Regions from separate parts of the Homo sapiens genome. Here region 2 is linked to region 1. The links are contacts of gene promoters, found by promoter capture Hi-C in blood cells and fetal thymus (Javierre and others, 2016). All regions are on one chromosome and are shown on one strand. Each heading gives the region's core, a stretch centred on a gene start or on the middle of the fragment in contact. The rest is flanking DNA. Distances are from core to core; before and after follow the strand shown.

Region 1 (2,600 bases), core at 34-2,533:
TCCCTGTCCCAGCCTCTGCGTCTGGTCTCTGGATAGGCAGTAAACAGCAGCACCACCTCCTTACCTCCTTCAGTGACCGTTTTAAACCAGTCCAGGAGCTTCTCCAAACAGGTGTCATCTGCCACCGGCTGCCTGGGATCTACCAGAACAGCACAGAGAGCCGGGAGCAGCTGGGCGCATTCTGGGTCCATGGTGAGGCCGCAGGCCCTGCAAAGGCAATGTGAGAGCCAAACCTCAATGCCCACTCCAGACCCAGCTCGCTCTAGTCACAGCAGCCCACCATGCCTGCTCAGGCCTGGGAAGGGGCCCCAGAACTTTCATCTCAGACCAGGAGAACCATGATCCCCAGACCAGAGGTCTGTACTGCAGGGATGGATGCAAAGCTTTGGTCTAGGTGGGGCCCTGAGCGCTGGTGGCGGGGCTGAAAGGGGCAGATGAGGGTCTAGCTGAAACCACAAGGCCTCCGGAACTCAAAGTCTGTCACCCTTGGTCTTTGGTGCAGTCGGGGCAACAGCGTGGTGCTGGCCCAGGCTGCAGGTGGGCCAGAGTCAGGGGCATCTTTGAGTTCCGGGGTCAGCCATGTGTGCAAGGGGATGTCTACCCATGCCCCAGGGCCAGCCTGGGCTGGAAAGTTTCTGTCCCTCCCAGCGTCAAGTGGTGGCTGCATTTGACGTCCTGAAGCCAGCAGGGGGGTGCGGAGGGGAAGGGGCGCCTGTCCGTGTGTCTGTCCCTCTCAGGGTCAGTGGTGGCTGCATTTGCTGTTCTGCAGCCAGTAGGAGGGTGAGGAGGGGAAGGGGCACCTGTCCGTGTGTCTGTCCCTCCCAGGATTAGTGGTGGCTGCATCTGAAGCCGGCGGGGGGGAGAGGGGGGCGGCGGGGTGCGGAAAGGAAGGGGCGCCTGTCTCTCCCAGGACCAGGTGTGCATCCGTGCGTCCAGCCTCGGGGGTGGGCGGGGTGGTCAGCGGCTCTGTCTAACCGGGGCACCGTCTGCCAATGCCCGGGAAGGCTGCGTCCCGGGAAGAGGAACCCTCCCCACACTTTGAAGTCAGTTTTGGCCGCGAGCGCCAGGCCCGAGAGTCCAGAAGGGGCGCCAGAGCAGGCGGCCACAGTCGGGCTGGGAAGCGAGCCCAGGTCGCGCACGCCCCGGGCTGGGCTGCTCCCTGGCCCGCCCGCCCCCCTCGGCCGGGTCTTGGCCTCCCCGCGCCCCACTACCACGACCTCGACCCCCGAAGGCCCACGCGCCTCACCGCTCGGTTGCGTCCTCCGCCGCAACCACCCCTCGCCCAAGGCTCCGCCTCCGGACAGTGCCACCTGCCAGGCCCGGAGGAGGCGGAGGACGGAGACGGCTGGCGTGGGGAACTGAGACTGCACCCCTGGAGGCCGCTCTGGAAGCCTCGAGGGCCCAGACTTGAAGGAAGGAGTTCAAGCTGAGAGGGGCTGGGGACAGGCAGGCGCCAAGCCGGTCGCTCCGACAGATCACCCCCGCCAGGCGCCTAGTGGTTCATGCCGAGCATCCGGTGGGTGGGCGGGGCGTCTCGAGGGCGGGGATCTCTGAGGAAGGCGCGGGGTTGTGTCCGGAGGGGCGGGGCTTCGCCTGCAGGGCGCCCAGTGTCTGCACCGGCGGGAGCGAGAAAACTATGTGCCGGAGAGAAGCGTCCTGATCCGTGCACCAAAGCCCTTGGTCATTTAGCTTCAGGTTCTCAAATTAAGTCCTCCGCGGCCGCGCTGTGGCTCATGCCTGTAATTCCAGCCCTTTAGGAGGCGCAGTTGGGAGGATTGCTTGAAGCCAGGAGTTGAGACCAGCCTAGGCAACAAAGCGAGACCCCATCTCTTAAAATTTAAAAAAAAAAAAAAAAAAAAAAAAAAAGGCCAGGCGTGGTGGCTCACGCCTGTAATCCCAGCGCTCTGGGAGGCCCAGGCGGGCGGATCACGAGGTCAGGAGTTCGAGACCAGCCTGGCCAACATGGCGAAATCCCGTCTCGTCTCTAATTTTTGTATCTCTAAGATATCAAAATTAGCCGGACGTGGAGGCGCGCGCCTGTAATCCCAAGTACTCGGGAGACTGAGGCAGGAGAATCTCTTGAACCTGGGAGGCGGAAGTTGCAGTGAGCCAAGATGGTGCCACTGCACTCCAGCCTGGGCTACAGGGCGAGACTCCGTCTCAAAAAAAAAAAAAGAAAATCAGCCAGACCTGGTAGCATGCGCCTGTGGTCCCAGCTACTCCAGAGGCTGAGGCGGGAGGATCGCTTGAGCCCAGAAGTTCAAGGCTGCAGTGAGCTATGATCCTGCCCCGGCACTCCAGCCTGGGCAACAGAGCAAGACCCTGTGTTTTAAGAAAGCAAACAGGCAGAAAAACTAGGTCCAAAAAATTGAGTTCAAAACACTAACTGTGTGTTCGAGAGTCTCAAAGCCAGTGGATAGACAAGGCTCATGTTCCCAAAGCATTGTTTTATAGCAAGATTGTTGGGAGCCAACACCAGATTTAGGAAACAAAGCAGAATTCCTATGGATATTAAAATTTAAAAATTTAAAAGCACTGACTTTGCTGGGTCACCTTTATTTTATTTATTTATTTATGGAGACGGAGTGTCACTCTTTTTG
Region 2 (2,600 bases), core at 55-2,554, 1.1 Mb before region 1:
AGAAGGCAGGCCGGAAGGGGCTGGCTTCAGCAGGGTGGACGCCGTTTTCGATTCATTGGCCTGACCCTTTGAGCCCAGAGCAATGAAGTCTCCTGGGGGAGGGTGCCCTGCAGAGAAAGGAGAGAGAAAACCGGGCACATTTGCAACACCCAAGATGGAAAAAGACTGACTCTAACCTCCTGTTATGTCAGAGGGGATTAAACAAGGGTCAGAGGAGGCAAGGAAGAAGCCAGAGCTCACTCAGCAGCCTACAGCAGAGCTGGGACCAGCAGGATACGCACAGGTGATGGTGGACAGTCACGTAGCGCTAACCACAAACCAGGCCATCTCTGGTCTATCCAAATTAGTGTGCTTAGTAACCCCCGCCCCGAGTTTCCGCAATAGGTGCTATTACTCTAACTTTACAAGAGAGAAAGGGACACAGAGAGGTTAAGCGACGTGCCCAGCGTCACACAGCAGGCGAGTGGCAAAGTCCGGAGGATCTGAGCCGACAGTTCAGCCGCAGACCCCGTGCTACGCTACACTGTGCTGCCTCCCGCCTCCTGGCTGGGGAGACCTTCCGCTACTGTCGGCCGCCTTGCAGCTCAGCCTGAAACGAGATCACCGGGGTCCCGAAGGAAGTCGCCACTGTCCCAAGCCTCCCAGGGACTCTCAGAGCCGCTGAGGACCGAGAGCAGTGTTTCCAGACCGAATTCCTGGAAACAGCCGCGGCTGCGGAACAACCAAGCCCAACGCAGGATCCGCGGCAGCTGAGATCCCCAAAGACCCCCAAAGACCCCCAAAGACCCCCGGGCTGCAGAGCGAGGAGGGAGACGCACCTGAGGGTTTGGCCGCGGCGCTGGGCCGGCGCACCGTGGTGGGCTTGGCCCGGTTCATCCTGCCCCGTCCCTCGCGGCTCCCGGCGGCTGCGGCGTCACCTGCGGAGGAGCCAGCGTGCGGTCATTCCTTCACTCATTCGCTCGTTCGCTCGCTCATTCGCTCCCTTGCCGCACGGGGCTTGGGCCTGGGACCCGGGGACAGTGGTCCCGCGCCCGCCCGGCGGGGCGATGCTGCAGGAGCTGCAGGGACCCCGCCTCCCAGCCGCCCGGGAGCGGCTCAGTCGGGCGGCAGCAGGCGACGCGGACGCCGGGCTGGAGGCGGCAGAACCAGAAGGGACGGCCCAGAGGCCGGGAGCGGTAGCCGGGAGAACCAGGCGCTCGCCCGGCAATGAGGAAGCGCCCAGGCCGCGGCTCACTTACCTCTGGCCCATCGCGACCGGAGCGCCGCCGCCGCCACCCGGCCACCCCGGAATCGGAAACCGATCTCACCGCCCTCGAGGACCCGACTTCCGGAACAACCGGAAGGAAAACAGTGCGGCGGGAAGCGGGCCCAGAAGGAGGCGCGAGAGGCCCGCGGCGCCGGCCTGATGCCTGCAGCGCCCCATGGCGGCGGGAGGCGGGCTGGCCGGCGCCGCGCGCATGTGGTCCGGTCCAGGTGGGTCGGCGGCGCGGGGCAGGCGCTGGCCTCTCCATTCACAGGTGGTGCTGGCGTTGCGAAGGGACGCACTCCAGGACGCACGGCGGGGAGGAGTGGCGTCAGGGATCCGCGGATGAGTCAAGTGGCAGGTTCTGCACGTCCCGGAGAGCGGGGGCGGCCGGGGCGCAGGCACTGGCGAGGGGGCGCAGCCCGGGGGGCTCCCGGGGAGAGACCCTGTCTCAAATAATAATAATAATAATAATAATAGCTTTATTGAGATAGAACTCGTGTTCCACAAAGTTCACCCTTTTCTTTTTTCTTTTTTTTTTTGGCACGGAGTCTCGCTCTGTCGCCCAGGCTGGAATGCAGTGGCGCGACCTCGGCTTATTGCAACCTCCACCTCCCAGGTTCAAGCGATTCTCCTGCCTCAGTCTCCCGAGTAGCTGGGATTACAGGCGCCCGCCACCATGTCTGGCTAATTTTTTTGTGTTTTTAGTAGAGACGGGGTTTCACCATGTTGGCCAGGCTGGTCTCGAACTCCTGACCTCAGGTGGTCCGCCCGCCTTGGCCTCCCAAAGTGCTGGAATTACTGCGCCCGCCCCGCCCCCACGCCTTTTTTTTTTTTTTTTTAATGGAAACACTGATGGGAACAAAACTCAAAAGACACAAAAGATCATACAGTTGCCAGGTGTGATGCTCATGCCTGTAATCTCAGCACTTTGGGAGACCAAGGCAGGAGGATCGGTTGAGTTCGAGACCAGCCTGAGCAACATAGCAAGACCCCCATCTCTACAAAAAAATAAAAATTAGCTGGGCATGGTGGCATGAACCTCTAATCCCAGCCCTTTGGGAGGCCAAAGTGGGAGTCTGAGACCAGCCTGGGCAACATAGTGAGACCCTATCTCTACAAACAAAAATCAAGAATAAATTAGCCAGGCATGGTGGTGCATGCCTACGGTCCCAGCTACTGAGGAGGCTGAGGTAGGAGGATCTCTTCAGCTTGGGAGGTCAAGGCTGCAGTAAGCTATGATGGTGCCACTACGCTGCAGCCGGCCGACAGAGCGAGACCCTGTCTAAAAAAAAATAAAAATAAAAGGTGGGGGAATCATCCAGTCAAAGGGTCGAAGGTCTCCCCTGACCCCTGA

The links. The method cuts DNA at HindIII sites, captures the fragments that hold promoters and counts their contacts. A CHiCAGO score of 5 or more calls a contact.
Region 2: a contact is called between the fragment with the promoter of INTS1 here and the fragment with the promoter of BRAT1 in region 1, in 1 of 17 cell types (neutrophils). The highest score is 5.5, in neutrophils.

Annotation. Positions count from the first base shown.
Region 1 is chr7:2,554,241-2,556,840 of GRCh38, forward strand. It overlaps BRAT1 (BRCA1 associated ATM activator 1), which reads right to left and starts at 1,284. Exons shown (of 14, transcript NM_152743.4): 1 at 1,247-1,284; 2 at 65-207. The coding sequence starts at 191. RefSeq lists a silencer at 1,039-1,278 and an enhancer at 1,191-1,868. The HindIII fragment of the contact is 11,664 bases long and covers 382-2,600 here.
Region 2 is chr7:1,503,085-1,505,684 of GRCh38, forward strand. INTS1 (integrator complex subunit 1) reads right to left here and starts at 1,305. Exons shown (of 48, transcript NM_001080453.3): 1 at 1,239-1,305; 2 at 819-917; 3 at 1-107. The coding sequence starts at 876. RefSeq lists a silencer at 951-1,510 and an enhancer at 2,397-2,600. The HindIII fragment of the contact is 9,546 bases long and covers 1-2,600 here.